Regions from separate parts of the Homo sapiens genome. Here regions 2, 3, 4, 5, 6 and 7 are each linked to region 1. Evidence: promoter capture Hi-C in human tissues and cell types (Jung and others, 2019). All regions are on one chromosome and are shown on one strand. The core of a region is centred on a gene start or on the middle of the fragment in contact, and the rest is flanking DNA. Distances in the headings are between cores, read along the strand shown. Region 1 holds the start of LINC00908 (long intergenic non-protein coding RNA 908). Region 2 has its middle 28 kb from the start of LINC01879. Region 3 has its middle 9.8 kb from the start of LINC01879. Region 4 overlaps ZNF516 (zinc finger protein 516). Region 5 overlaps LOC105372212 (a long non-coding RNA gene). Region 6 overlaps ZNF516 (zinc finger protein 516). Region 7 overlaps LOC107985151 (a long non-coding RNA gene).

Region 1 (4,371 bases), core at 715-3,214:
CATGGGGTTGGCCGAGGCCTCTGTTGCAACTGTTCCTCAGTTCACCTTCCTCTTCTGCCCACCCTGGGTCCTGCCATTCTTCAGGTGTGGCTCCTGAGAGCACCGGCCTGTGAGACCCTGCGGAGAAATCACCGCCAACCGTGTGAGCACTCACCGCAGGGAAACAGCCTTCCACCACCTCCGCCTCCTGCTCTTGACCAAGCCCGCTAGGAGCACTAGGCCTCAGCCTCCTCATCTGTAAGACAGGGGCCAAAATGGTCTTAATTCTCAGAGTGTCATAAGCATGAAATGAGAGCGTGCACAGAAAGCCCTTACTTAGGCTTGGTGTGTAGTGAACGCCCAATAGAAGTGCTTGGTGTGCAGTGAATGCACAATAGAAGAAGTGATATGTGGCCGGGCGCGGTGGCTCACGCCTGTAATCCCAACACTTTGGGAGGCCGAGGTGGGCGGATCACGAGGTCAGGAGATCGAGACTATCCTGGGTAACGCGGTGAAACCCCGTCTCTACTAAAAATACAAAAAATTACCCAGGCGTAGTGGCGGACGCCTGTAGTCCCAGCTACTTGGGAGGTTGAGGCAGGAGAATGGCGTGAACCCGGGAGGCGGAGCTTGCAGTGAGCCGAGATCGCGCCACTGCACTCCAGCCTGGGCGACAGAGCGAGACTCCGTCCCCCCAAAAAAAGAAGTAGCGGTATGTATGATGTTGTTCGTCACAGAAAGCATGGAAAATACAGAAAGACACAGAGAAGAGAGTAAATTCACCCATGGGTCTACTGCCGGGTTAACAGGCACTACCAAGATTTCAGGTGGTGGGGGCGCACGCGCATGCGCACCAACACACGGGCCCTAGAAAAATAAACTCGGGATCCTAAGCGTGTACGCTGCGGTGCCCACACACGCGTCTGCCGTTCTCACCCCGTTTTCTGCTTTAATTTTCTGCTTAAATTGGTCATTTTCTGTGAAATGCACATTCCACTTCTGGGTAGTGTGCACCGCCCATCTCCCCCACGGAGTGCAGGAAGGTGGCAGCGGGGCTGTGTTCCAGGCCAAGGCCACACAGCCCGGGGGGCCGCACGCGGGGGCAGCCTTGGTACACGAGGCCTTTCATTTGTTGGTTTTACAGCTGGAAGAATTCGGATATACTTATTGACCGAGAGAAGAGTCCAAAACTCAGGAGTGGAAAATAACGAAGAATGAAGAAAGGAAACAGGAAGAGGTTGACCTGATTGATGGAAAGGAGCTCCTCTTTCTCCAAAACCAGAAGGAAAAGGAAGATTTAGAGAGCAGAGGAGGGTAAGTTTCCCCCGGATAATATGGGTTCAGTTGCATAATACGGCCAGGATGTTATCTGCAAAGAAGCTGTGGGGAGGAGAAGGCAGAGCAAGGAGCGCAGGGCTGAGACTGTGGGAGATGCAGCCGGAAATGACAAAACAGAAACAAAACGTGACCAAGGCCATTTGGGGTCCAGCTGAAGTTCAGCGGCTTAGATGCGTAGTAAGTCCCATGAGCACTGTTGCACGACTTGCCCACAGCTGTTCACATATGGACTTTGCAGCTCACATTGACTCTGGCCAGGGCGGGAGAGCCGGGGAGCCAGGCAGGTGCGTGGGAAGGGAGAGAAGAAAGGGAAGACGCGGTGCCCATTCCATATTTACCTTAGTAGTCATCCAGACGCACTTCCCTCTCCAATCCCCAAACAAGAAGAGGCAGAAACTGTCTACCAGTTAGACGGGAGGTGTCAGCGCCCCTGGAGGCTGTGGCCATTGCCAGGGAGACCCCACTCTGCACAGCTCACAAACACACCGTGTGTGTGCAGGGTCCTCACCCGCCCTGGGCAGGAAATGGGGGAGTTCTACGTCCACTTTGTCACGCAGACAATGGAGGGGACCGCAGAAGGGGCTTCCCCAAGGACACAGAGCCAGTGGCCGCCTCACTGTGTGCCCCTCAGTGGGCGTTTCCACACTGCCTGGCAACTTTGAGAACAGCCGCTTTCGCTGGGTCTCCAGTGAAACTTGAAACCATTTGCATCTGCAAGTACTTTACTTATTCCATTTCAAAGGCATGCACATTTTTAAAGGGACACTGTTTTTAGCTCCTGCGTCACTGACTCATCCCGCATAATTTGACTTTATGGGACAGGGTCCCCTAAGGAGTGTCCTTGCCTTGACAGTCCTGTCTTGAAAGCTGTGAAGACCAAGTGGTGCCATATATATTGTTTTAAAATTATGGACTACCTAGAAAAGAGGTGAAATAGTAAAAAAAAGCAAAACTTTTAATATTCAATGACAAACACAGACAGAAAATAGGGAAAAATTAAATGTTAATGTGTTGGGATGATTGGATTTTGAATAAATTTTATTTATTGAATTGATATGAAGTTTATGGAACAGGGATAAACAGTTTGTTTCATATGATTATATATTTAGGTATTCGTTGACATACATATATACGTATACATATACACGTATGTATTGCCGTGTGTACATATAGACACATAGCATGTATGTATAAAACATATACATATGTGCCAAATTACAAAACGAGAAGTCGTGTTGCTCATCCTGCTCTATTATAAGAAACCTCAAGCAACAGTAGGTACTGGAAAATGCCAAGTCTGCATGATCCCGGCAAGGGCAGATCCTGCCACTGGAGTTCTGGAATGCATCTCTCCCCACTTGGCAAAGATGCAGGGTGCAGAGGGGGTGTCAGCAGAGGGGCTGGGTGCAGAGGGGTTGCAGACTTACCACAGGAGGACTTTATCAAGAGATGTGGGTTTTCTGGGCATCCAGGACACCCACAATGGGGTGACAGAATTGTCTGTGGAGTGGAGTCCTAGTATTGAACTTGGCAGCTGCTACCGGATGCTCTTCTGGCACCTATGTTTTCAGAAAAACAGGAGCTGGCCAAGAGTATTTGCCAGATTTCTCCCTGGATTGGACTGATTTCTGCACTCAGCCCAGGTTTGTTTTTTTTTTTTTTTGGTGTGTGCCCCCGCGCCCGGCTAATTTTTGTATTTTTAGTAGAGACGGGGTTTCACCTTGTCAGCCAGGCTGGTCTCGAACTCCTGACCTCAGGTGATCCGCCTGCCTTGGTCTCCCAAAGTGCTGGGATTACAGGCGTGAGCCATGGCACCCGGCCTCAAACCAGCCTCAATCTGAAGGACGTGCATACTCTCCACAGGTCCCACAGGTCTTTCTAGGGTCCTTGCCCCTTACGTGCACTTCCTCTCTGAAGAGGTCCTTCCTCCACCATGTTGTCCCAGCCTGAAATTGTCCCTCATTATGGAGACTTGAGTGGTGTCTCCCACTGACTCCTCTCTCAAGGGGTGAGGGTTTGCTTGACCAGACACCAGCAGTGGGGCACACCCCTTCCAGTTCACCCTGATGAGCTCCTTATGCCACCACAGGGTCAAAATCAGGTTTAATAGCAGCAGCATTCGCAGTAGCCACAAAATGGAAACAACTCAAGCACCCCTCCAAGAGGGGGAATGGATAAGTAAAGTGTGCTGTATCCCCACGATGGAATATTATTCACTCATGAGAAGGAGTGAAACACTGGCACATGCCACAACGTGGATGAACCTTAAAAGCCTTATGCTGAGTGGAGGACGTCAGGCACAAAATACCACAGATTGTTATGAGCCCAGTTGTATGAAATGTCCAGAAGAGGCAAATCCATAGAGACAGAAAGCAGATCCGAGGTCGCCAGGGTCTGAAGGAGTCGGGGATGGGGAATGATTGCTAATGGGTCCAAGGGGGCTTTCCTTTCTGCATGAGGACAGTGTTTTGAAACTGGAGGTGATGGTGGCATAACACCGTGACTACACTAAATGCCACTGAGTTGTACACTTTTGATTTTAGGCTATGTGAGTTTTACTTCAGTTAAAAAAATAGATTGAAGGCTCAGAGAGATTTAGGGGTGGGAGGGTAAGGATTTAGGATTCAAAAGAACTTGACTAAGGAGCTGAGAATCTTAAATATATTTCCAGTGTCATTGGGTTACTGGCTGACCTCTGTGTGCTACCTTGGTACCCTACCCCAATCGACGCTTTGTTCTATGAGAAAAAGCATTCTGAGCTTCAAGTAACTGAAGTAACTGATTTATAAACAAACCGTTGGAATATAATCTTTTTCTTTTTAATTGTTGGGGACTATCTGTAATTTAGTCTCTAAAATATAGTTAATCTTTGGCTCTTGCTCTGAATTAATCAATAAAAAAGACATCATAGTGGTAATCTTTGGGGGAAGTGAAATTCAATTTAATCCATTTTTTCTATTTGTTAGCTCCTCCGGTAATTGGTTTGATGGGGAAGAAGTTTGAAGTTATTGGTTAAATAGAGGTTTTTGGATTATCTGTGAATTTCAATTATCC
Region 2 (4,371 bases), core at 754-3,253, 190 kb before region 1:
CCCCTCCCTCAGCTGCTAACTGGCTTTTGACTTTCTGTCTCTATGAATTAGATTGCTCTAGGCATGTCATATAAGTGGAATCATGAAGATTTATTTTTTGTGAGTGGTGTATTCTACTTAGCATAATGTCTTCAGGATTCATCCATGTTATGAATGTATTAATATTAGAATTTCTTTGCTTTTGAAGGAGTATTCTGTGGTATATACCACATTTTGTTTATCCATTCATCCGTTCATGGACGTTTCAGTTGTTTCCAGCTTTTTGATGTTGGGAATAACACTGCTGTGAATACCAGGATATAATCTGTTTGAGTCTCTGCTTTCAATTGTTTGGCATATATACCCAGAAATGGAATTGCTGGATCATACAGTAATTCCATTTTGGATTTCTTTAGGACTTGCCATACTGTTTTCTATAGGGTCTACACTATTTTACATTTTCACCAGCAGTATACAAGAGTTCCAATTTCAGGCCAGGCATGGTGGCTCACGCCTGTAATCCCAGCACTTTGGGAGGCCGAGACAGGAGGATCACTTGAGGTCAGATGTTCAAGACCAGCCTGGCCAACATGGTGAAACCCCATTTCTACTAAAAATACAAAAATTAGCCAGGCATGGTGTCGTGCACCTGTAATCCCAGCTATTCGGGAGGCTGAGACAGGAGAATTGCTTGAACCGGGGAGATGGAGGTTGGAGTGAGCCAAAATTGTGCCATTGTACTCCAGCCTGGGCAATAGAGCAAGACTCCATCTCAAAAAAAAAAAAAAAGTGAATTCCAATCTCTCTATATCCTTACAAACACTTATTATTTTTCATATTTCTAAATTATAGCTATTCTAGTGAGTATGAAGTTTGCTTTTTATTTGTAGTTCCCTAATAACTAATGATGTTCAGCATTTTTTCATGTGCTTGTTGACCATTTGTGTGTATGTGTGCGTATGTGTATATATGTCTATTTCAGTCATTTGCCCACTTTAAAATTAAGTTTTGTTGTTGTTGGGTTATAGAAGTTCCTTATATATTCTGGATATTAATCCCTTGTCAGATATTTTGGCCAAATCCAAGGTCATGAAGATTTGCCCCTTTGGTCTTGATCTTTTTTTTTTTTTTTTGAGACAGAGTCTTGCTTTGTTGCCCAGGCTGGAGTGCAGTGGCGCAATCTCGGCTCACTGCAAGTTCCACCTCCTGAGTTCATGCCATTCTCCTGCCTCAGCCTCCCAAGTAGCTGGGACTACAGGTGCCCACCACCACGCCCGGCTAATGTTTTTGTATTTTTAGTAGAGACAGGGTTTCACCATGTTTGCCGGGGTGGTCTCAATCTCCTGACCTCAAGTGATCAGCCTGCCTCAGCCTCCCAAAGTGCTGGGATTACAGGCGTGAGCCACCGTGCCCGGCCTGGTCTTGCTCTTATATTTAGATCACTGACTTATTTTGAGTTAATGTTTGCATACCATGTGAAGTGGGTTCCAAATTTATTATTTTGCACGTGAATATCCAGTGATCCCAGCACCATTTGTTGAAGAGACTATTCTTTCTCCATTGAATGGTCTTAGCACCTTTGCTGAAAATCAATTTGTCATAGATATGATTTATTTCTGGGCTCTCAATTCTATTCCATTGGTCTATATGTCTATCCCTCTGCTAGTACCACCGTTTTAACTACTGTGGCTTTGTCATAAGTTTTGATATCGGAACGTGTGAGTCCTCCAGTTTTGTTCTTCTTTTTCAAGATTGTTTTGGTTATTCGCGTTCACTGCAGTGCCACTGAAATTTTGATAAAGATTGAGTTTGAATTTGTAGATTGCTTTTTATCTTGACAATATTAAGTCTTTCAATCCATGAAAATGAGATGTCTTTCCATTTATATCGCTCCTTTAATTTATTTCAGCAATGTTTTACACCTTTCAGTTCACAAGTCTGTCACAGTTACATTCTCCTTGATTAAATTTATCCCTAGGTATTTTATTCTTTCTGATTCTATTGTAAATGAATTTTTTTTTTTTGAGACAGAGTCTCGCTCTGTCACCCAAGTTGGAGTGCAGTGGCTCGATCTCAGCTCACTGCAAGCTCCGCCTCCCAGGTTCACACCATTCTCCTGCCTCAGCCTCCCAAGTAGCTGGGACTACAGGCGCCCACCACCACGCCCAGCTAATTTTTTGTATTTTTAGTAGAGATGGGGCTTCACCGTGTTAGCCAGGATGGTCTTGATCTCCTGACCTCGTGATCCACCTGCCTTGGCCTCCCAAAGTGCTGGGATTACAGGTATGAGCCACTGCACCCAGCCGAAATTTTAATCTTAATTTCCTTTTTGAGTTTTTCATTGTATTGAAACACAACTGATTGTGTTGATCATGTATTCTGCAATTTGGCTGAATTTGTATATTAGATCTGTGCTGTGATTTGAATATGTCACCCCAAAATGCATGTTGGAAACTTAATTCCTATTGTAACAGGATCAAGAGATGAGGCCTGTGATTGTTAATACTAAGTGTCAATTTGATTGGATTGAAGGATGCAAAGTATTGATCCTGGTGTGTCTGTGAGGGTGTTGCCAAAGGAGATTAATATTTGAGTCAGTGGGCTGGGGAAGACAGATCCACCCTCAATCCGGGGGGGTGGGAGGACCATCTAAACAGCTGCTAGCAAATATAAAGCAGGCAGGAAAATGTAAAATAGTTAGACTGGCCTAGCCTCCCAGCCTACGTCTTTCTCCCGTGCTGGATGCTTCCTGCTCTTGAACATTGGACTCCAGGTTCTTCAGTTTTAGGACTTGGATTGGCTCTCCTTGCTCCTCAGCCTGCAGATGGCCTATTGTGGGAACTTGTGATTACGTGAGTTAATACTTAATAAAGTCCCCTTTATATATATCCTATTAATTCTGTTCCTCTAGAGAACCCTGACTAATACAGGGCCTTTGGGAGAGAATTAGGATGAGATAAGGGGCATCATATCATCCATCACATCAGTGTGGGGCCCTGTGATGTCTTCCTAGGAAGAGGAGGAGAGACCTGTGCTGGCGTGCCCTTGCCCCCTTGCCAGGTGGTGCCCTTTGCATGTTACGATACAGTAAGAAGGCTCTCACCAGATGTGGCACCTTGACCAGATGAATGAAATAGAACATTCACGTCTCCTGGGAATTTGGTCATGACAGAATCTGAGAAGGAGCAGGGAGCTGGAGGAAGCCAGGCCTCCTGACAGCGCCCAGCGACCTCAGACACGCCTGATAAGAGTCTGTCCCTTGTATCAGGTAGTGCTAGGGTCATGTTCTATCTTTGCCATATTTCATCTTTGACCTTGAACTTCCCAGATTCCAGAATTGTAAGAAATACATTTCTTTGTAAATTACCTAATTTTGTAGTATCCTATAATAGCAACAGAAAATGAACTAAGATAATCTAGAAGTTTTTTTTAAATTTCTTTAGGATTTTCCATAGAAGATCATGTAATTTGCAATAGAAATAGTTTTACGTCTTCCTTTCCAATTTGTATGTCTTGCCTAAGTGCTTTGACTGGAACTTCCAATACAATGTTTAATATCAGAGGTGAAAGCAGGAATCCCTGTCTTTTTCTTATCTGAGGAGTAAAGCTTTCAGTCTTTCTAGCTATTTATTTTTATTTATTTATTTTTTTTTGAGACGGAGTCTCAGCCTGTCACCCAGGCTGGAGTGAAGTGGTGCGATCTCGGCTCACTGCAATCTCCACCTCTTCGGTTCAAACGATTCTCCTGCCTCAGCCTCCCGAGTAGCTGGGACTACAGGCACGTATCACCACACCCGGCAAATTTTTGTATTTTTAGTAGAGATGGGTTTTCACCATGTTGGCCAGGCTGGTCTCGAACTCCTGACGCTATTTTTAAAAAAACCTTATTCTTCCTTTTCCTAACCATATACAACCTTCATGAGAGCTTTGAAACCAGTTTCACCACCTTTAATCATCTTTGTAACAACTTTTCTACTTAGCAAGAGCATAAGCTTGGATATAAAAATAGCATTGTTTTCCTCTTACTTTAGTTTACAAATATTTATAATATTCATAATTATCTCACCTCTTCTACTTCATATTCTCAGTTCATGTCTGACATAACTAAGTACTGATTGAGGTCATAGTTAAGCGCTCCACCCATCTGAATACTACCTAATTTTTGTCTAACTAAATTCTCTTTTCTCTGATCAGCAACATTTTTCAGAGATAGCTTAGTGAAAGTTTGAGCCATAAATTTAGCTAGTTTCATGTCATGCCTCCCAGATTTTCTTTGACACAAACGGGTAAAACTGCAGTGTTTAGAGCATGCTGGGGTCTTTTATTGCCTGGCTTGCATCACAAATGTCTGCTCAAAACGTGCTGAAGAGGGGCATTCCCAAGAAACAAATT
Region 3 (4,371 bases), core at 1,028-3,527, 170 kb before region 1:
TTTCCAAATGTATAGATCTTGTGATTTTAAGTAGACTGTTGCCATGTTCATACCGTGACTTCTGCCTTTCAGACAGTTGGAAGCTTCTGGAAGCAGCACGGAGAGTTTACATTGCCCTGGCTTTGAGTTTCGAAGCAAGGGTGCTCCACTCTTGTTGGATTTTTGGAGCTTCTGATGAATGCACATGTTGAATCAGAGTGCTCCAGAGTATTAGAACCAGAAAGTCATTTAGAGAACACATGAAGCTTTATTTCACAGACAGGAAGCTGGGTCAGACACAGTGAGTGAGGATGCGCCTGGGGTGAGCCTGGAGTGGGGATTCCCATGCTATCCTTTATTGTTTATCAAAGACTCAGGTGGGATCTTTAGCTTCCCCAGACTCTGTTTCCCCACAGAATCCAGTTTCAGGATTATCTGTATTACTGGTGACAACTCGTGCAAATACCTGTCTTGGTATGTGCACATAATTATATTAGCATTGAATAAATACACCCCACCCCAAACATTTGACTCAGATCATGAGCTAATTGGGCATAATCCCAGCCCTAAAAGGAAGTGGAGAGGATCAGACCCTGTATATATGTTTATTTTATTTTATTTTATTTTTTGAGACGGAGTCTTGCTCTGTCCCCCAGGCTGGAGTGCAGTGGCGCGATCTCGGCTCACTGCAAGCTCTGCCTCCCAGGTTCACACCATTCTCGTACCTCAGCCTCCCAAGTAGCTGGGACTACAGGCACCTGCCACCACGCCTGGCTAATTTTTTTGTAGAGATGGGGTTACACCGTGTTAGCCAGGATGGTCTCGATCTCCTGATCTTGTGATCCACCTGCCTCCGCCTCCCAAAGTGCTGGGATTACAGTTGTGAGCCACCGCGCCCGGCATTTGTTTTTTATGTTTTTTTTTTTTTTAATGCCTTGCCCAGCTGCCTCCCACCTAAGAAGAGATTTGGGGAGACAAGATTTTTGTCCCGAAACGGCTATTTGGTTATGAGTGGGAGGATTAAGAGTCACATAGCAAATTAAAATTCGCCCTACCTCACCCCCTTGCTTTTTATTAGTGTTACTCCTAAACATTGCGGCTGCAAACATGCCCACACACAGATCTGTCTTGTGCATCTCTGATTATTTGCTCATGTAAATTCCTAGAATGAAATGTCTCAGTTTTAAAATGCAATTATAACTTTACCCTTTTGAAATACAAAATACAATTATTTTCTGACAGTTTCTACCAACTTATGTACCAATTAGCTACTTATTCCATTTCCCTTTTCTCAAAACACAGATTAAAACTGGATATTTTAATTTTTAAAATGTTTCGACAGTATATTTGTTATTTTAAAATAAATTTTTAAATGTTAGAATAGTTTTTTAATTTTTATTTATTTATTTATTTATTTTTATTTTTTTGAGATGGAGTCTCACTCTGTCACCCAGGCTGGAGCACAGTGGCACGATCTCGGCTCCCTGCAAGCTCTGCCTCCCGGGTTCATGCCATTCTCCTGCCTCAGCCTCCCGAGTAGCTGGAACTACAGGCTCCCGCCACCATCACGCCTGGCCGAGCCAAGGAACCAAGATCATGGTGTGGCATAGAAAACACAGCCTGTTGAACAAGATTCTGCAGACCGCCTGCCTCCGTGGATGGGAGGGCCTGACAGGTGTTTATTTCTCCATTTCACATTAACTGGGAAGCGACAGCAGCTCATGGCCACTGCACCCGGCTGCCGTGTGGTTCATCGGACATTTCAGCTGTCTTGAAAATTGATATTGATTACTTCAGAACGTGCCGTCCATGGAGCGATTCATCTTGGCAGTTAGAGTGGGCAGAATGATTAGATCCTCGCTCCACAGCTGCATTCCACACTTCTGCCTGGTCCTAGGCTTGGTTTCAGAGGCCTCATTAACACACGTCATCCAGTGATCTTGGAGAACATTATGCTAAGTGAAATAAGCCAGACACAGAAGGACAAATATGCCTGGTGCTGCTTGCATGATGAATCTAGTCAGGCTCAGGAGCAGAGAGTGGAACAGTGATTGTCAGGGGTGGGATGAGAGAGGGAGCGTGGGGGAGGGGGACGGGACGGGATGAGTCAGGGGGTGCAAAGTTTCAATTATACAAGATGAGTAAGTCCTAGCAATCTATTGTGTAGCGTGGACATATCATTAGCAACACTGTATTGTATACTTAAAATTGGCTGAAAGGATAGATCTTGTGTTTGTATCACAAAATAATAACAATAATTAATTCAGAGGGTGGAAAGAGACTTTTGGAGGTGATGGATATGCTTACGGCATAAATTATGGTGAGGTTTCACAGGTGAGTACTTATCTCCAAACTCATCAAGTTGTAGACATAAAATATGTACAGCTTTTTCTACGTCAATTAGACTTCAATAAAGTGGCTTTAAAAATAAATGGCAGCTTTTACTTAATTTAAGTTTAATTTTCTTCTTTTTCTTTTTCTTTTCTTTTCTTTTTTTTTTTTGAGACAGGGTTTGGTTTTGCCACCCAGGCTGGAGTGCAGTGGTGCGATCTCAGCTCACTGCACTGCAACCTCTACCTCCTGGGCTGAAGCAATCCTCCCACCTCAGCCTCCTAAGTAGCCGTTGCATGCCACCATATCAGGCTACTCTTTGTATTTTTTGTAGAGACAGGGTCTCGCCATGTTGCCCAGGCTGGTCTCGAACTCCTGAGCTCAAGCAATCTGCCTGCCTCGGCCTCCCAAAGTGCTGGGATTACAGGAATGAGCCACCATGCCTAGCCAGCTTTTACTTAATTTTAAATTGTGGGGATCCCACTCAACCAAAAAAGAATAGCATTGATAGCACCTTCAAATGTTCTAGTCGTTTTCCTGTACCATTAGATCTAGATAGCGAGTTCCTCGAGGGTTAGACGCACGCCTTAGTCAGGAGAATCCTCATAGCTGTAGCAAGCACGTGTGCGGCACCCGGGAACAGGCGGCTGCACGCCCTGCTTGCGGCATCCCATGGATCCTTGTAGCAATGCATAGGGGTGACACGATTCTTTGCATTTTCAGGTATAAAAAAGAGAGAGAGAGATGGAGAAAGAGAGAGAGACAGACAGACAGACACAGAAAGAGAGAGAGGGAGCGCGTGCAGGCAATGAAATCCAGCTAGAAAGGGTCAGAGCCAGGGTTTGGTTCTGAGTCTCGCTCCGCAGCCTGCATGCTTAACCACACCTCCTTAATGCTGACTATTAATTGGTGTGAGAGAGATCAGTCATGTCTTACCGTGGCAGCCCCAGTACCTAGAACAATCACTAGCTTAGGGGGCCGTCACGAAGCTTGGTGAATTAATAACCGAATGAATGCATGAGAAGATTGAGGGGATGAAGGTAGAGATGGGCCACAGGGGCTCGATACCCTGGCAGGCTTCACTTTTGGCTCATGTGAGAACTACACTTTAAGCCAGCAGGGGCCTAGGAATTTCTAGAACATTCTTTGGGTTTTTCTTCCTTTCAAGAGCTGAGCCAGAGAGTCACTGCACCAATTGTGTGTGTGTATGTGTGTATGTATGTGTGTGTGTACGTTTGTGTGTGTATGTGTGTACGTGTGTATGTGTGTGTACATATGCGTGTGTACGTGTTTAATTTCCTGCTTATTGCCCTGCAAGGAGGTCCCCTGCTCCTGAGAGGGAGTGGAGATTTTGTGAGATGATACCCATTAAGGCCTTTTATGCTCGCCATTTTGTAACAAACAGCATCTGGAGCTTGGGAGGAGTGGGGAGCCTGGCTGTCCAGGAGGACAGATTAAGTGTCCACCTTTATAAATCAAACTCCTGTGATGTGGGTTCAGAGGTCACCAACAGCAAATACACATCTTGTAGTTTGGGGTAAAGCAGGAAAAAATATTATTTTAAGATTTAGGATTAAATTGCAAATACCCAGAACACAATTCCTATATGTAAAACACATTCTATTTAAATGTTTTCATTTTTTAAAAAATCTCATTTCTAAGTGGCCAAAAATAATAATTGTGAACGATAACTTTGTCTTCTTATTTATATTCAAGGACCAACTCAGATTAAAGCGATCTTTTAAAAAGGCTTGAAAAGGAGAATAAATCAGTATCGGTGTCAGTTTGTCTCATTTTAACAATAGTCACTATGGAAACAAATCACCCACCTATTTCTTTTCCTACCTCCAAGTAAACAATAGGGTTTCCACTTTTCCTGGTATCCTGTTTCCTCTGCGCAGGAAGTTCTTGTACAGAACGTCTGTACAGTGCTTCTAATTGAACCTATGGTTTTCCCCACATGCCTGTTTCTGTTGTTTTAAACCTCCTCCGCCTCGTGGATTTTCACTCTGAAAGGCTGAGGATCCTCAACCCCATCCTCTGGAATCCTGAGCGTTTTGT
Region 4 (4,371 bases), core at 1,725-4,224, 160 kb after region 1:
CAGGTCTCTGTGTTGAAGCTGTCAGAACAAGTTGAGAACTCTTCTATGTCATAGTTCTTTAAGGCTTCAGACATTTCCCTCTTGCCTTTCCTGGACCCAGCATCCGTGTTCTGCATCCATCCTCTACCTGGTCTCTTGGGCCTACCCATCTATCCTCTGCCTGGTCTCCGGGACCTTCCGTGTCCATCTTCTACCTGGTCTTCGGGGCCTTCCCATCCATCCTCTACCTGGTCTCTTGGGCCTTCCCATCCATCCTCTACCTGGTCCCCAGGACCTTCTGTGTCCATCCTTTACCTGGTCTCTGGGACCTTCTGTGTCCATCTTCTACCTGGTCTTCGGGGCCTTCCCATACATCCTCTACCTGGTCTTTGGGGCCTTCCCATCCATCCTCTACCTGGTCTCTTGGGCCTTCCCATCCATCCTCTACCTGGTCTCTTGGCCCTTCCCATCCATCCTCTACCTGGTCTTCGGGGCCTTCCCATCCATCCTCTACCTGGTCTCTTGGGCCTTCCCATCTTGGGCCTTCCCAGGTCTCCCAGGACAGGAGACCTGGTCCCCAGGACCTTCTGGGTCCATCCTCTCCCTGGTCTCCGGGACCTTGTGTGTCCATCCTCTACCTGATCTCCAGGACCTTCTGCGTCCATCCTCTACCTGGTATCCAGGGCTTTCCCTGTCCATCCTCTACCTGGTCTCCGGGACCTACCCATCCATCCTCTGCCTGGTCTCTGGGACCTTCCCCATCCATTGTCTACCTGGTCTCTGGGGCCTTCACGTCCACTCTCTACCTGGTCTCTGGGGCCTTCTGTGTCCATCCTTCTACCTGTTCTCTGGGGCCTTCCCTGTCCACTCTCTACCTGGTGTCCAGGACCTTCACATCCATCCTCTATTTGGTCTCTGGGACCTTCCGCATTTCCTTTCTCCTTACTTGAATGTTTGTTTTTGACGCCCTTAAAGTGTTGTAGCCAGAAGGAAACCCAGCAGCCTTGGTGTGGTCAGACTATTGGAAAGGTGAACAGAACACTCATGTTTCCTGTTACAGAGACTCGATTTCTGTTACCGCAGCCCAGGAAATCTGTGCAGCCTGGATTTCCTTTTTTGAGTGTTGCTGAATACTGGAGTAACTACACTTTCTTAGGGCTTTTTTCTTCCACTTGTTTCTGTTCAGCTGTTTCTTTTTTGTGGTGTACCTGTAGTTGATTTTTGAGTCATGAGTCTAGAATCTTGTTTCATTCCTTCCTTGGTCAAATTGATCTTTTTGACGTGTCTTATTATACAAGTGTATCTCTGCTTTCTGGTCTTCTCTTCTCACCGCATGTGTTTGTTACGTGTCTGCTAGGTGGGTGTCGTCTGCAGCTGTAAAGATCACAACTTCCCTGTGAGTGGTCATTGATTACCCCTATTGCTGTAGCATCATTTTGTAGTTTGGGGAGGTAGAAATATGCAGAGGAGAATGGTCTCAGAGAATAGGAAGTCATCTCACGTGTACATGCAATAGTTGTGGGTGCTAGAAGTGTGATTCTGTGATTTTGCAGTGGACATGTTCCATTTATACAGAGAATGTTGCTATTGGAGGATGCTTCTAAGACAGGTTTTATTCAGAAGTTAGGAAACGGAAGTCTCAAAGACTTCCCCGCCCCCACATGTGTTCGGGTGATGTTTCTGTAGATATGAAGAGTCTAAAAACTCTACCCAAACAGGAAGGAAAGAACTATTGCTACCTCCTTTAGGGACTCCCTGACCATTTAAGAAGAAAAACCCACTGCATTTTCTGTAATCATTGTACAGTGTGACTACCAAGTCTATAAACATACAGGAATAGAACATAAATGACTTATTGCTACAACAGTAATAAAATAATACATGATCTGTGTTTTCAGACCTTACGGCCAGTCTAGATGATCTGATAGTATGAATCTTAGAATAAAATTTGAAGCTAATAAAATAATTCCAGATAGAATAGATGGTATTTCTTATTGGGACCTAAAAAAGTCATTTATACCAAGGAGGCCTTCATATTGTGGTGATGAAAGCTTTGTGCTTTCTTGCAGTTTGATCTCTCTTTGTAGAATCTTTTTCATCTCCTCTTTCTCTATGGATAGCACAGCACCACATAATGACACGCAACGTAGCAGGGCTGGGTGTCCCTCTCTGAAGTTGGCCAGGCCTTTTTCTTTGACCGTTAAGTCCACTTTCCAAACACAACTTGAATTTCTAGGTGAGAACATTTGAGCTGCGTGCTTACCAGGTGGTCTTCAGTTCAAATGAAGTTTATAACCTTTGTGATTGACTCGGAATGTTGTAGCTTGGGCATAATATTATTGGCCATAAGGGCAAGTGCCCTGTCTTTAAAAAGTAAAGAGAAAGTGATATGGTGAGATGTGTGGGAAACTCATATGTGTGTGTGCACTTGTGAGCGTGTACGCCTGCGTGTGTGTGTGTGCACGCGTGCTCATGCACCCTTACTTCAAGGAAATAAGCACGGATGAGTGGGAGGGCTATCCATGTTTTCTCTGTTGCTCATTTGGATAGGAAATAGCTACAATAATTACTTGAAAAAAGAATAATGACTTAGTTTTTGAAAGTTGTGAATGTTAGACACAGATGACATTGCATGTCGTCATCATTAGTCAGTATTGTGTGTAGGCGTGGTCAGATTCCACCTGTAGAAGCAGTCTAGATTGTACCTGGGAAAATCCAGACAACCGGAGTATTCAGAAATTCATTTCGTAGGAGCTCCACTGGGTGGTGTTTCTAATGCAAATGAATGGGGGAACAAAATAGCTTAAAAAATCTCTTTTCTTTCTTTCCTTTCCTTCCTTTTCTTTACTTCCTTCTTTTCTTTCTCCCCTTCTCTTTCCCTCCCTCCCTTTTCTCCTCTCCTGTCTCCCCTCCTTTCCCCTCCCCTCCGCTCCCCTCCTCTTCCCTCCTCTCTCCTCTTTTCTTCTTCTCTTTGCTTCTTCTCTCTTCTGTTCTTTTTCTTTTTCCTCTTTCTTTTCTTTCTTTCATTCAAGACAGAATCTCACTCTGTCACCTAGGCTGGAGTGCAGTGGTGTGATCTCAACTCAATGCAGCCTTGACCTCCTGAGCTCAAGTGATCCTCCCACCTCAGCCTCCTGAGTAGCTAGAAGCATAGGCATGCATCACTCGCCTGGATAGCTTTTACATTTTTAGTAGAGATGAGGGCTCTCACTCTGTTGCCCAGGCTGGTCTTGAACTCCTGGGCTCAAGTGATCCTCCCGCTTTGGCCTCTCAAAGTGCTGGGATTACAGGCGTGAGCCGCCGCACCTGGCCCCTGTTAACTTGAGTGTTGGTTGAAATGTTTCTTCTTATTCCTTTTGTGTATGTAAGGCAATGGGAATATTGAGTAGTCGGTGGCTAAGTTGTTGAATTTCTCTGATTCATGTTAATGATCTGTCATATAAGAAATTTGACAAGATGTGCCTCACAGTTCATGCATTTCTTATTTCCATAAACATGATCTATAGTGTAAGCATGATTTTATGTTTTTACCTATTGAGCTACTCTGAATTAGGGTAAGAGAAACAATATTGAAGGTTTGTTTTCAACCAGTGTGACTAAGGTGCCTTTTGTCATTCTCTTCATTTGCTGTTCACACTCAGGTGTCAGCCTTTAGATACATAAAAACTCAGCTGCATAAAGCAGCGTTTTAAAAAATTACTGCAACAGGTGTAACTTTTTCTAGTTATTATTTCTGTTTTTTTTGTTTTTCCTACTGAGTTGAGTTACTATTGCGCATAACAGTGACTCTCCCAGCCAGAGAAATTTCTTTGGAGCTGCCAGCACATGGAAATCAAGCCTTTTCTTCAGAGAGAAAAGTTGTGCAGACAAATAAACGCTCTCTGCATCCCTTTCTAATCAAAGTCGTGTGGCTTTTTGGATCAGAAGGAAACACAAAGCCCGGCCTTTGAGTGCAGGGATGTGGCATGATCTTTGGGGAAAAGGTGGGACTTGGGGACTTCCCCCCTTGCCGATGGCCAGCAGGTGCACGCACCTTGGGGGCCTGCTGCCTGGTGGTTGTAGGTGTCCCCTCCCTTCTGGGGGCCGGGGCCTCAGAGCTGCCCAGGCAGGCAGGAGAGAGGGCCAGAGGTGGGGCCACCCTGTGGCCGCACTCACTCTGCGTGGGTCTCCCAGGATCGCGGCCGGGTCACGGTGGGCTCTGGTCCCGCTCACTTCCTATTTTCCATGAGCCTCGTCTCTGTCACGCCGGTGTCACTCTGATTTGCTGGATGTGCTGCTTGACAGAGCCGGGTGATGGCTGTGCCCAGCCTGCAGTTGCTCGGAGCTGCACAGCCCGACGTGCTGCCTGGCGGGCACCTCCTGTCCCAGGGAGTGGTTTTTAATTCGCTGTAA
Region 5 (4,371 bases), core at 1,356-3,855, 150 kb before region 1:
GCTTGTCGGGCTCTCAGACTCATACAGGGGGTCTAACCCTGGAAAACCAAGTGTGCGCCACCTTTTGCAACTCTCCCACAGGGGCCTGGAGCCACTCCCTTCCTGGGAACGCTGATGCCTGGAAGGTCAAAGGCAGCGCAGTCAGGCGATCTCAGCGTGGTGCTTTGTGGATACAGATCTGGAGAGGGGATATGGGGACTTGAGTGATGGGGGTGGGGTCTGTAAATGCAGGGCTAAGGGATGTGTTCATTTATTCCAAACTGATGGGATGTCCTGGCAGAAAACCACAAACTCATAGAAAAAGAAAAGCTGGCCGGGTGCGGTGGCTCACGCCTGTAATCCCAGCACTTTGGGAGGCCGAGGCAGGCGGATCATGAGGTCAGGAGATTGAGACCATCCTGACTAGCACAGTGAAATCCCGTCTCTACTAAAAATACACACACACGAAAAAAATTAGCTGGGCATGGTGGTGGGCACCTGTAGTCCCAGCTACTCGGGAGGCTGAGGCAGAAGAACTGCTTGAACCCGGGAGGCAGAGGTTGCAGTGAGCCAAGATTGTGCCACTGCACTCCAGCCTGGGCGACAGAGCGATACTCCATCTCAAAATAAATAAATAAATAAATAAATAATAAAAAAGAAAAAGAAAAGCCTACCAGTTTGGCACACTTTCATGATTTGCTCACCTGTAGATTATTTTTAAAAGGACGACACCGGGAGGAATGATGAATACAGGACTCTGCCAATCACTGCTGAGTTGATGCAGCACAAATGCCTTGTCTTGATGTAAGTGGTTCAACAACATGCTGGGACTTGGCACTGATGGGGTCAAGGCTTTCTATGAATTAATACGCAGATGTGTAGCCTCCTCTCCCTCCTAACCTCTGTAAGGTGAGTTGCTGGGCTGTGAATGACAACACAGCCAAGTGCAGAGAGAAGGGGAGCTTGGAGGATCCACACATTCAGGGCCCCTCTTGAACCACTAGAAACATTTGAAGCTTCATTTAAAGCACTCCTTATCTATCTCCCAGGTGTTAGGAAGAGTGATGTCCAACCTTGGCAGCTGCTGTGTTCCCAGGAGTAAAACAGAGATTCTCGGCATCATCCTCAAAAGGACCCGTGGAGATCGCTGCACGGAGTCAATCACCTGACAAGTGCACCAAGAATGCCCTGTGCCTGGAACTGGCTGCCGTGGAACCCACAGACGCGCAGCATGGGGGATCTGCCAGGAGGAGCCGTGCGGCTGCCCAGCTCATCCCCACCCTCCAAGAGCCCACAGACGCGCAGCATGGGGGCCCTGCCAGGAGGAGCCGTGGGGCTGCCCAGCTCATCCCCACCCTCCAAGAGCCCACGTGCCTCTGCGCATCAGCCACAGTCTGAGCTGGGCACAGAATCGACTCGTGGCCTCTTCAGTTTCCTCAGTGGCTCTTTCTCGACCCCGCTTCTTAGAGCCAGGGTGGCAACTGAGAGCAATGGCGAAACAGGTGAAAATGGGGAGAAAGGGCAGCCAGCGCTGAGATCCACACCCACTGGGAGCCTCCCCTGCTCTCCAGGTCCTGATAATTCAGATGACAAAGCACTCAGCCAGTCAGCTCTAATCCTGTAGCTGCACTGACTCTCTGTTTGTGACTTTAAAATGAAAGCGATCCTGTGTGTATTGATAACACCAGTGAGCCACTTTCAGATTCTGAATCAAAATTGTCAGCTGTTTCTCATCAGACTGTCGATGGCACCTGCCGGTGATGACACTGGTCAGGGGGCAGCCGCAACCTGGGTGAGAACAAGCTCCTGGGGGATCCTCACGTGCAGCCCGGGATGGGGACCACTACCATATGGGAAAACAAAGCTCGATTAGTGCATATTCGACTTTACTTACATTTTGATTTATTGTATTTATAATTATAGAGACAGTTATCTGCTCCTTGGGAAGTAGATTGAAGGAGAGAGAAGTAGAAAAATAGTTACGCACAATCTCATTACCCAGATATGCCCACTGTTGATATTTTGTCATATTTCCTCCTGTGTTTTTATTACTGGTTTTTTTTAAAGCATAATTGAAATCATACAGTATATATGATTTCGGAAACTTGAAAAAATTTAACAACATAAAAATTTCCTCATGCATTAAACAATTTTGTAAACACAAAATGTAAACACCATTTTAAATAGCTGCATAAAACTGAAATATAGGCATGGACCACACTTTGAATTTTTTCCTCTTAAATTATGATGTTAATAATATTAATATTGGCTCCTTCTTACTGAGCCCTTGCTAATTGTAGACACTGTGTTTAAGCACCATACATAAATTATCTGGTTTTAGCTCTCAAATCAATGCTATGCAGTAGATACTGTTATTTTTCCAACGTTATAAATGAGGAAACCAGGGCTCACTAGGGGCTCCTTTTCCTGATTAAGGTGCCAGGGCAAAGGACCTGCACCGTGATCTATGTGAAAAGCCACTGGATTTTTCTCAGTATGTCTCCTTGGTCAAACGGAAACACTGAGGCCTCTCGCGACTATCCTTGAGAATTGTGAGAATTAAAAACGAGGCCGGGTGCGGTGGCTCAGGCCTGTAATCCCAGCACTTTGGGAGGCCAAGACAGGCAGATCGCTTGAGTCCAGGAGTTCAAGACCAGCCTGGGAAACATGATGAAACCCCATCTCTACTAAAAATAGAAAAAGAAAAATTAGTCGGGAGTGCTGGTGCCCGCCTGTAGTCCTAGCTACTTGGGAGGCTGAGGTGGGAGGATCGCTTGAGCCTAGGAGGTTGAGGCTGCAGTGAGCCAAGATCTAGACAGGGCACTCCAGCCTGGGCGACAGAAGGAGATCCTGTCTCAAAAAAATGGGCTGGAGCTGGGTGCAGTGGCTCAAGCCTGTAATCCCAATACTTTGGGAGGCTGAGGCAGGCGGATCACTTGAGGTCAGGAGTTCAAGACCAGCCTGCGCAACAGAGCAAAACCCCATCTCTACTAAAAATACAAAAGTTAGCTGGGTATGGTGGTGTGTGCCTGTAATCCCAGCTATTAGAGTGGCTGAGGCATAAGAATTGCTTGAATCTGGGAGGCGGTGGTTGCAGTGAGCTGAGATCACGCCACTGCACTCCACATTCCAGCCTGGGTGACAGAGTGAGACTGTCTCAAAAAAAAAAAAAAAAAAAAGGCACCCAGGTGCTTCTTCCCTCTCCATACCCTGTGCGGTAGCCTGGCAGCTGCTCCCAGGTAGGGAGAAGGAGAAGTAGGGAATGGGAGCAGCAGTTGAGGCCAGCTCTGTGCAGGGCTGGGACACAGACGGCTTCAGGGTCATGGCCGGCAGCAGTAGCCCTGTCCTCAGTGGTTTGCACACTTTGCTGTGTAAAAAAAACCTGAACGATGGCATCAAATTCAGCCTTGAAAGGAAGGAAATTTTGCTCCATGCTATGACACGGATGCACTGGAGGACACTGTGTTAAGTGCAGTGAGCCAGTCTCAGAGGGACACGTGCTGCTGAGCCACACAGGTGAGGAACACGGAGGAGTCAGGGCCAAGGAGATGGAAAGTGGAAGGGGCGCCAGGGGCTGGGGGAGGAGGAGTGAGGCCTCTGTGTTTCGTGGGGACAGGGTTTAAGTCTGGGAAGATGGAAAAGTTCTGGAGCTGGAGAGTGGTGATGGCTGCACAGCAGTGTGAACGTGTGTAGTGCCACAGAACTGCACACTTAAAAATGATGAAATGGCCGGGCACGGTGGTTCACACTCGTAATCCCAGCACTTTGGGAGGCTGGGAGAATTGCGTGAGTCCAGGGGTTCAAGACTAGCCTGGGCAAGATTGTGAGACCCCCATCTCTACAGAAAAAAAAATAGTGGGGCATGGTGGTGCACACCTATAGTCCTAGCTACCCGGGCGGCTGATGGGGAAGGGTCACATGAGCCCGGGAGGTCTAGGGTGCAGTTACCTATGTTCACGACGCTGCACTCCAGCCTGGGTGGCAGGAGACCCTGTCTCAAAAAACAAAACAAAACAAAACAAAAACGGTTAAAGGATAAATTTTACGTTATGTGTTTTACCACATTAAAAAAAATAAAAGCAGCAAAGTTACTCCCTATTGACTTGGGCTGTAGACCCTCCTTTGAAGAACTTGAAGCCGGGCCTCATTGCTAACCTGTCACAGCAGGTGGAGACTTAGAGGGCTGCTCAGCCGGACGCAGTGGCTCACGCCTGTAATCTCAGCACTTTGGGAGGCTGAGGCAGGTGGATCACGAGGTCAGGAGATCGAGACCATCCTGGCTAACACGGTGAACCCCCGTCTCTATTAAAAATACAAAAAAGGCCAGGCGTGGTGGCTCACGCCTGTAATCCCAGCACTTTGGGAGGCTGAGGTGGGAGGATCACGAGGTCA
Region 6 (4,371 bases), core at 1,206-3,705, 130 kb after region 1:
GAAATCCGCCTTCCTCTGTCACGGAGGACAGAGACCGCTTGTGTTATGAAATGGCCTTTGTTCCGTAAGTCAGACACATGCCTGATTTTAAATCTGAAGACTCTACTAATAAGTGATCCTGATTTTTTTTTTTAAAGACTCATTACAGTTTCTTTGTAAAAGACACGGAATTTGGATTCTGTGTTTTTGGACATTTATGCATCGCAATAGAAAAAGTTGTAGAAAGCCATGCAGGTGCTAGCTAGTTTGTGTGTATATTAGTTGGCTTTAAGTCGGAGAAGTGTACAGTGTTATTTCTCTTCCTGAGACTTACTCCCTCCTATGCCTCTTAAAACACTTTGTGTAGGAGAAAACACACAAGTGGTTTAATTGTATTCTTTGTGACTCCTGTTGGAAGATTCCAGGCCCCCATTCCTTCAGAAAGGCCCCCATTCCTTCATAACTAGTGTTATGGGCCTGGCTTTCCTGCTCTCCTCCTTACTCTAAGCTTCCTTATTTTCATTCTAACATCTACCAGCGGCGTCAGCACCTTCTTCCCGACAGTCCCCGCCACCATTCTTGATAAGACTTCATGTACGGCCTTTGTGCTAGCTGGCATCTGCTTCAGACAGCTGCGTCATACAAGGAAAGATTCGTGTTAGCTAATTATTTTTTGCCAACTTGGATAAATTTGTAAGTGGAAATCTTCATTGCTCTCTGATTAAAGTATGGTTTGCCATGTTTTAAAAAATAATAAAAGAATATATTGATTGTATTTTCTCCAGTGGATGTGTTTTGGTTGGCTGTTAGGATCTGGGGACGAAGGAAGGTGTGTAAGGTGTAGAGTAGCCGTGAAAGCCAACTTGAATTCGATTCACTTCAGCATTTGATTCACAACAGAAAAACCAAACCTGAGCGACGCTTCTTTATGGTTGAGTCAATAGGAAGCAGTTAGTAAATTCCAGGTTTCTGGAACCTGATTATGTTTTATGCCGGATAAACTGCTGTTTAACCGAAAGCTGTCATGGAAGCTAGAGGTATTTGATTAACCTTTAAGTTGTTGATTCTGTACTCACTGATTTAAAAAGTAACACGAATAATTTGTCTAGTCAGAAATTCTATATTTAATTTGGGACTGTTTTTGTTCGGACATCAAAATACAGCTTCCAAGGCTGGGGGCGCAGTGGCTCATGTCTGTAATCCTAGCACTTGGAGATGCCAGGGAGGATCACTTGAGCCCAGGAATTTCAGAACAGCCTGGCAACAGAGTGAGACCCATCTCTACAAAAAGTTTTTAAAAAAGTAGCCAAGCATGGTAGCACACGCCTGTAGAGCCAGCTACTCAGGAGGTTGAGGTGGGAGGAGGGCTTGAACCTGGGAGGTTGAGGCTGCAGTGAGCTGTGATTGCACCAGTGCACTCCAGCCCGGGTGACAGAGCAAGACCTTGTCTCAAAAATAAAATATCGTGTCCAGAGTACTAAGATATTTATGTAATTTTCTGTTAACACAGATAACATACTTTCGCAAGTTGTTTATGTTAGTAGATTATCACTTAAAATGAAAACGTGTACTCAGTCATCCAGAAAAAGTAGAATAAACATCTTGGGGTATAATTTATCAAAATTTTATAATACCATTCAGTTCCATGTTGCTCTAGTCCTGGCATTTTCTTGTCATTCAGATTTTTTTTTCTTTTTTTTTGTAGTTCACATTGTATGTGTCATGATAAGAATCATTCTTGAAGACATTTCTTTAGAAGAAACTTTTCTGGCCATAGGACTGAGCTGGACGATTGGCAGCAGCGTTTATTATTCTGTATGAAAGCCCAGGGCTGCCCTTTGATGAGAATGAGGGCAAGACCCACGCTGTCACTTTCCTACTCCATGGCCTTGGTGTTTGGGGCTTGGGTCTCCCCGACTCGGTGCCTCTGGAGGGGCTTGTGGCTTCCTGATGGGCTGCACCTGCTTCTGAACTGCGTAGCCTCTGAAAGCAATTATGTGTCCCCCGGCTTTTCTGTGCTCCTTGTGTCCCTCTGAAGCACTGAGTCTGTCTGGGTTATTTTTTTGTGTTTCAGGAGGAGAACTTCCAGATCACACCAGCCTGTGGCAGTGGTTTTCAGCATTTCTTTGGCTCCCCTTGCACAGGCAGCTTATGTCTTGTTTTTTCATGGAAAAGCCCCCGTGGATATTATAGCTACAACTTTTCCTCGTGCATTTTCTACATCATATCCAAAAACATCGTCTGACAGCGGTGCTCCGGCCTCTCACTCTCAGTGGAATGGCCTCTCTTCTCCACAGTTTGGAGAACCACTCTGCCTGCTGCCAAGATCCTTTCAGCTTGAATATCTTTCCAGGGGCTGTTTTTCCCCCCAGATGTCTATGTAGTTTTGTCTTAGTCTCTGGCATTTTGATTGTCTTAGAAATTCAAATTGTGATGAAATCTGGACGCCTGATTTCATCAAGTTTCCCCCTTTCAGGACAGGTTAAAAGTGATAGATGGATCTTCTTCTGAGCAACACTGTTGATGACTGTGATGTTCTTGCTGTCAAATCCAGTTTTTTGTTAACTAGTCATGTCTGTTATAAAAGTTACTACAGATTCACAAATATTAAAAGTAAATGCTGAAATCTTGAAATGATTTTGAATGCAGTGGCCCTGAGTTCTGAGACAGCGTCGGGCTCCTGGCACTGGGCATTTTCACCTTGGGAAGAGGGTGACCCTGCGCGCCATATATGGTTGAAATCCTCAGTGTCATTTGGATAGAGGCTGTTTGCTTTTATATCACAAATACCTATTTGTTCCCCATGCCCATACACTTGTATGGGGCTAGTTTCATAGATTTTTCTTTTTAAATAAGAGGGAACATCTAAGAAGAAGAAAGTGAAGGAGGGGTGTGACCATCTCCTAATCACAGCTACTGGGGATGGGAGAACCAGTGACCTGAATATCCTATTTGCTGTCAGCCCTGAGCACCATCTACCATTCGAGGCCATCACCTCAAATATTCCATCTGGCTTTTAATTAAGAGAATGGGCTGCTAATGAAATCTCATACTTCAGGTTGTACGTGGATCACCTTCTGGGTCAGGAGCGTGGATGCTGGGAAGAAGGCAGGGCTTCCTCTTTCACTTGCAGCTTTGCGCACTTCCGGACGGTGAAGCTCGCGGTGTGGGGAGCTGGACGAGGAGCGGGGTCCTGTCCCTGAAACACTTGGCTCCTGCAGGGCGGCTGGCCCACCCTCACGGCCGGCTGCAGTGTGACCAGGGTGGTGACGTCATTTGGGAAGTGCTTTATCTTACCGTCATTTGGAGTTTCATTTCCTCGGCACGTGCTGGTGCGTCTTGTTTTGGAGAGAGACTCCCTCATCTAGAATGCGTGGCCTCCAGCCTGTCCGTGGTCACTGACTCCAGTGACTGTAGCTCTGGGATGTCCACCTCAGCACCCACTCGAGGTTGGTAACTGGGTTAAGAGCTGTGCTCTGTGCTGCCAGAATTCCGTACCTGCCCCTGAGGCTGCCTGTGCTTAACGTTACTGTTCTTATTTGCAGGTCCTTAAGAGATACCTGCTGAATTAACGAATTCATCTTGCGCTTCATGCTTTTTAGCAGTTTCCTGTGCACTGTCTCATTGCATGTGAGTCTTGGATATTAAATGACTCCTACTCACCTCATTCATCCCATAAATGCATATTTGTTGATGGTCTCTCTCCCAGGAGCCAGATGCGCTAGATAGTGGCGATAAAGCTGTGAAACAAGGTTTGCTTTCTTGGTGTCTGGGAGATGCTCGTTTAGGACGGGGTGCAGCCTTGTGAATTGCGGGGGAAACAGCGAGCGCAGAGGCCCTGCGGCAGCAGGAGTGCCTGTGTGGGAAACCCACTCTGCTGGGTTAGGGCCAAAATTCCCTTTCTTGTGTTTAACATTTGTTCCCTTACAACCTAAAAACATGGCATGCAGGCATGCAGGCTTTGTCTGTGACTTTGCTCCATCCGTTTCCAATATTCCTGCCTGGCCTGAGATGACCAAATGCTCACTCATGTGTTTAGTTAGAGCAGAAGGAGTTGGAATCGGGACTGAGTTTGAAAAATGCAGACCTGGGATATCATCCGGTTCTTCCAGTCAACCGTGGTTCAGTCAGAAAGGGCGTGTGTGGTGATTGGGCAATGAATGAGTTTCTGTGTGTGGACAGCACTCTCCTGGAGGCTGTGTTCTGACCTGCCTTCCCACCTGCCCTCCCCCCACCTGACCACCCGCCTTCCCCCCACCTGACCACCCGCCCTGCCCCCACCTGACCACCTGCCTTCCCCCCACCTGACCACCTGCCCTCCCCCCACCTGACCACCCGCCCTGCCCCCACCTGACCACCTGCCTTCCCCCCACCTGACCACCTGCCTTCCCC
Region 7 (4,371 bases), core at 731-3,230, 130 kb before region 1:
TATAGATTTTTTAAAAGTTTTTTTCTGCTCTCTTTATAGACTGCTTCCTCTATGTTAATTTTTGTAACTTTCATTATTTTTTTTAAATCAAATCTTTTGTGGTGCTAGACTGTCCTTTCACATTGACGACCAAGGTACTAAAAACCAGACTGAGTCACGGCAGGGCCTGTGGGCTAGGGGCATCATTCATTTCCCCTGTCGGGGGAAGGCCGCCCACCCATGGCTTCTGATTGTCTGGGAGCAGGTGGTCAGGGGCTCCTGCACTGAGGAAACTCTTCCTGGGCCCCCTGCATGGAGCGCCCCCACCCCTGTGAGATGGAGAAGGAGGGCAAGAGCTCCCCCTGTGGCCCAGCTATGGAAGGAGACCCTTTTTGTTGGGCTCCTTGTGGTAAACGACCTCTTCCTGTCCACATCTTCAGCTGTAGACACGTTCCCTGTACTTTACCACCTCTCATCTGTTCCTGCTTTCTGTACCTTGTTGAAATATCTCACTGGCTGCTGTTTTTCCTCTCATTTTCTTTGTTATTATGAATAATATCTTTAAAACTATTATGCAGAGCTTTAGGTAAAAGAGAAGATAAAATCCATCTGGTCAATCCACTGTGTTAAATAGAACATATATTTCTGAAAGTTCTTTTTCTTTCTTTTTCTGATTTCAGTTTTCTTCCCTTTATATATTGTGTCTTTTTTTTTTTGCCACTCATTCCTCTAACCCATCTACCTCCAAGAGACTGATTTCTAAATCTCTCATGATCTCTTCCCTGTTAGAGATCAGATGAGCAACAGACCTTGTTCTGTCTGATTCCTCCAACGTTCTAAGGGAGGAAGTTCTCTCCAGTGTAGACCAAAAATCGACTTGGTGGTCTGTGGTCAGCTGAATTGTTTTTCCAGAATGTAACAGGAGTTTCATGCCCCATCATAACCAGATGTAGCTGAAAGCTTTGGTGAGTTGACCAGAAAAGGTTTCCTCGAGCTCTTCATCATGTGGGCATCTATATATAGACTCTACTGCGATGTCGCCCTCGATCTTAATCCGCCTTGCACAGTCTAGTGAGTGGCTTCAGGTTTCCTGAGAGATTTTATTCAGCGGATCATGGTGTTTCTCCACACGGATGCAGTGTTCCCTGCCATGATACAATGTGAGAATGTGAGAGATTTTTTGCCCTGCAAGGAAAGAACTGAATTTCTCATTAAGTTGAAGAAATTTTTATGATCATTGAATTATTAAGCTCTGGTCTTTTCAGAAAGCTACCAAGGGAAGGGAAGGAAAAAAATAAATAATAAATGGTGTTTTTTGTGCAAAGTTTACATTTTTTTTTTCCAGGGAACAAGAAGGACGCTGATAAAACTCCAGATGGTTTGCTCATCCACGTCTACTCCACACATTTCTCCTAGATGGCGGCACCTCCTTTCCATCCTGACTTGGAGGGGCTTCATTTCAGACGGTCCGTGATTCACATTTTCTTACAGTACTTTGAGCTCTTGAAAGCCCTGGTAGAGATCATTATCATTTCCTGCTTTAGCCTGGCTCCTGAGCTGTGGTGGCTGCATTTCTTTGGTCCTGTTTTTTTATGAGCCTCACCCTTTGAGTACCAATAAAGGCTGCAGTAAAGGGACTGATCCAGACCCAGATAACTGCATGGCCAGAACAAAGTGCCCCAGCCTAAGCACCATGACAATAAATGGAGCTACATTGAAGCAAAAAGTTCCAGAGAAATGGGAAGAGAGGTGCCACAAGAGAGAGCAGGACTCTTAATCTTTTGCAACTAAAAGTTAACTGTTACTTCCACTACTTCAATTTGGAGCCTATTTGAAGGAGCCGTTGACATATGCTTTTATACAAATTTGTTGATCTGTATTTTCCTATATTTACCTTATGCACTCCTCAGTCATAACACTGCTAGAATGTCCTTTGTGTAATTTAAAAAGCGACAATGGAATTTTTTGAAGTATGCAGGGGGAGAAGTGAAAAGAAGATGTCCACAGAGCAGGATGCTCCTTATCCTGGCCCCCATCTGTCATCAGGGGCACTGGGAACAGTCTCTGTTTTTCCTAGGAGCAGCGATCACTTAAACTAATTTACAAAGTAAGCTGATTTATGCCTCTTAACAGTTACTGAGTGCTTAACATTATAGGAAATACAGTCTAGGTCTAAATTACTTACAAGGGATGTTTCAAAAAGTAGTCCTAAAAATTATTCAATCACCAAGAAATTATCCTTCATATAAATGTGTCAGGAGCAGTATGCATTGACATTTTGAGTAAATATTTCAGTTTTATGTCGAATGTATACTCAGTTGCTTCTGAAAAATAGATTGTAAGCAAGCAGATGGGGAAAATATTTCAAAATGGAATTTAAGAGGATCAATTGTATTTAGAATCAGTTGTATTAGAAATACAGCATAATAAGAGGTATCTTTCTCGGAGCTGTAGGTATTGTTATAACCTGGGATTTGTTTCCTGTACATCTGGATATAGATCATTATGTAAATAAAAGAAATGCCTTTTCAATATTCAAAAGTGTTTTTTTTCTTTTTGAAGCACAGCTAGTTATGTTTTGTTAATAAGGGAACATTAAATCTTTAATTTATTCCAAATTTTACTCACGATACTCAAACTGCTCTCACTCATTTTAGGTTGAGACTTTTCCAAGCCAGGATTGGGCTGATGCAGGGGACCTCCTCCGAGCAAGAGGGTGCATGCCATGGATGACAAAGGCAGGAGCTGCTCAGTCCAAACCCGGGTCCCCCAACCACCGTCTAGTGGACGTGTAACATCGGGCAAGTGATGCAGCTTTCCTCTCGCATTTTCCTATAAAATGGAGCTAAATATAGTCCCTACCTTATAGGGTTCTTATGAGGATTAAGTGAGTTAATGTGGAAAAATCTCTCACGACAGCAATTGGTTATTGGTGTCATATAAGGGGAAACATGGACTTCCTCAGATAATGCCAACGATTGACCCTTTCCTGCTGGGTATGTCCAGACAGTAAAACTCCTCTGTGCTTCAGAAAGTAAAGAACTGGTTCCATAGATGTGGGACATGAGCAGGGGTGGTGCTGTTGGAAATTTTGCTTTTTTGTTTAATGTGAACAATACCATTTGTTCTTGAGTGGTTTTGCCCAGGTATTATAGGCAAGGGGTCTTTGAAAAATGAATTTATGGCCAGAAGTGGCTGTATCTTCTCAAGCAAAGCCCTCGGTGTTTACTGATACCATCAGTAACTGAAGGCTATTCTGGTTAGGGCTGAAATTCTTTTCCTTTTACAGAAGTTGGAGACACCAGATAAAAGACACTAAAAAGTTATAAAGTAGATTTAGTGTTGAGTACGTTCCAGCATTCTCCATTAATTGTGTGGTTTCAAATAGCAAAGGGCTACCTCCTCTTGAAGACAACTCATGAGAGGATCATGGGGAGGAGATGGGTCCTGGAGGACCAGGAGCAGGGAGACACAGCCATTTCTGGGAAGAGCCCGTGGAAAGGGCATCCAGCCAGACTCCAGATCCCTCGTTTTTCCTTTGGCCAACTTCATTGCATCAACTTGTAGTTGATGTACTACTAGCAAATTGTAACAGTGTGTAGACTACTTAATAGGCGATCAAGTGGACCAAGAGGAAAAGTCGGACCTTCCTGGGGCACACATGCAGGTAACATGGAAACTGTAGTCACTTCCTGGTGCCACCTCTTAGCCAGGCGGTGTCCTTAGTGATATTGCTTATGCCTTATTCTCGCCCTGTGTGGTTACGATCCTCCACTGCACAGGTAATGAACATGAGGCACTGAAGGTAACCTGCCCAGTGTCCCACAAGGCTGTGGTGTGAATGTTTACATCACCCAAAGCATTGAAATCCTAACTCCCAAGGTGGTGGTATTTGGAGATGGGGCATTTGGGAGCAGATAAGGTCATGAGGCTGAAGCTCTCATAGATGGAATTAGTGCCTTATAAAAGAGGCCCCAAGAGAGACTGCTTGTCTGTCCCTTCCACTGCGTGAGAACACAGCAATAAGGTACCATCCACGAACCAGAAAATGGGTCTTCAACAGACCCCAAATCTGCCTTGACTGTGGACTTGCCAGCCTCTAGAACTGTGAGAAATACAGTTTTGTTGCTAATGAGCCACCCAGCCTATGGTACTTTGCTATAACAGCCCAAACAGACTGAGACACAGTGAGTGGACCCTGTGACGCCAGAGTCTGTCCCTTGGCCACCACTGTTGAAGGCCAAAAGGGTGAGGGTCGTGATCAACTCAGTGCACCACTGGAGGCCATATGGGTAAACAGCAAACTGTTCTCATGAAAGCAGGATGTTGGCAAACTGACAAACTGCATCTGCAGCCCAGAAGGAATGCTGAGGGCAGTCACAACCCAGGCAC

The links. Contacts are between HindIII fragments. The study calls those that stand out against the background at their distance.
Region 2: a fragment that was not itself captured here is called in contact with the fragment with the promoter of LINC00908 in region 1 in 2 of the 25 tissues and cell types used here (dorsolateral prefrontal cortex and spleen).
Region 3: a fragment that was not itself captured here is called in contact with the fragment with the promoter of LINC00908 in region 1 in 6 of the 25 tissues and cell types used here (H1 embryonic stem cells, adrenal gland, heart right ventricle and 3 more).
Region 4: a fragment that was not itself captured here is called in contact with the fragment with the promoter of LINC00908 in region 1 in 2 of the 25 tissues and cell types used here (lymphoblastoid cells and mesenchymal stem cells).
Region 5: a fragment that was not itself captured here is called in contact with the fragment with the promoter of LINC00908 in region 1 in 2 of the 25 tissues and cell types used here (IMR-90 fibroblasts and dorsolateral prefrontal cortex).
Region 6: a fragment that was not itself captured here is called in contact with the fragment with the promoter of LINC00908 in region 1 in 2 of the 25 tissues and cell types used here (lymphoblastoid cells and spleen).
Region 7: a fragment that was not itself captured here is called in contact with the fragment with the promoter of LINC00908 in region 1 in 1 of the 25 tissues and cell types used here (spleen).

What each region holds. Positions count from the first base shown.
Region 1 is chr18:76,526,248-76,530,618 of GRCh38, reverse strand. LINC00908 (long intergenic non-protein coding RNA 908) reads right to left here and starts at 1,964. Exons shown (of 3, transcript NR_015417.1): 1 at 1,656-1,964; 2 at 155-235. RefSeq lists enhancers at 303-942, 1,366-1,445, 943-1,581, 1,582-2,222. The HindIII fragment of the contact is 15,253 bases long and covers 1-4,371 here.
Region 2 is chr18:76,715,566-76,719,936 of GRCh38, reverse strand. No RefSeq gene overlaps it. Among named protein-coding and RNA genes, the nearest start is that of LINC01879, 28 kb to the right of the region's middle. The HindIII fragment of the contact is 6,667 bases long and covers 1-4,371 here.
Region 3 is chr18:76,697,642-76,702,012 of GRCh38, reverse strand. No RefSeq gene overlaps it. Among named protein-coding and RNA genes, the nearest start is that of LINC01879, 9.8 kb to the right of the region's middle. The HindIII fragment of the contact is 4,225 bases long and covers 165-4,371 here.
Region 4 is chr18:76,371,787-76,376,157 of GRCh38, reverse strand. The region is part of intron 4 of ZNF516 (zinc finger protein 516); the gene reads left to right. Among named protein-coding and RNA genes, the nearest start is that of ZNF516-AS1, 120 kb to the left of the region's middle. RefSeq lists an enhancer at 4,272-4,371. The HindIII fragment of the contact is 6,110 bases long and covers 1-4,371 here.
Region 5 is chr18:76,681,320-76,685,690 of GRCh38, reverse strand. LOC105372212 (a long non-coding RNA gene) reads left to right here. Exons shown (of 3, transcript XR_935657.4): 3 at 1,029-2,145. Among named protein-coding and RNA genes, the nearest start is that of LINC01879, 6.5 kb to the left of the region's middle. The HindIII fragment of the contact is 5,868 bases long and covers 1-4,371 here.
Region 6 is chr18:76,394,675-76,399,045 of GRCh38, reverse strand. All of the region lies in intron 3 of ZNF516 (zinc finger protein 516), which reads left to right. Among named protein-coding and RNA genes, the nearest start is that of ZNF516-AS1, 95 kb to the left of the region's middle. The HindIII fragment of the contact is 6,024 bases long and covers 1-4,371 here.
Region 7 is chr18:76,654,745-76,659,115 of GRCh38, reverse strand. LOC107985151 (a long non-coding RNA gene) reads left to right here. Exons shown (of 3, transcript XR_001753506.1): 2 at 1,325-1,445; 3 at 2,637-2,799. Among named protein-coding and RNA genes, the nearest start is that of LINC01927, 18 kb to the right of the region's middle. RefSeq lists an enhancer at 1-409. The HindIII fragment of the contact is 5,712 bases long and covers 1-4,371 here.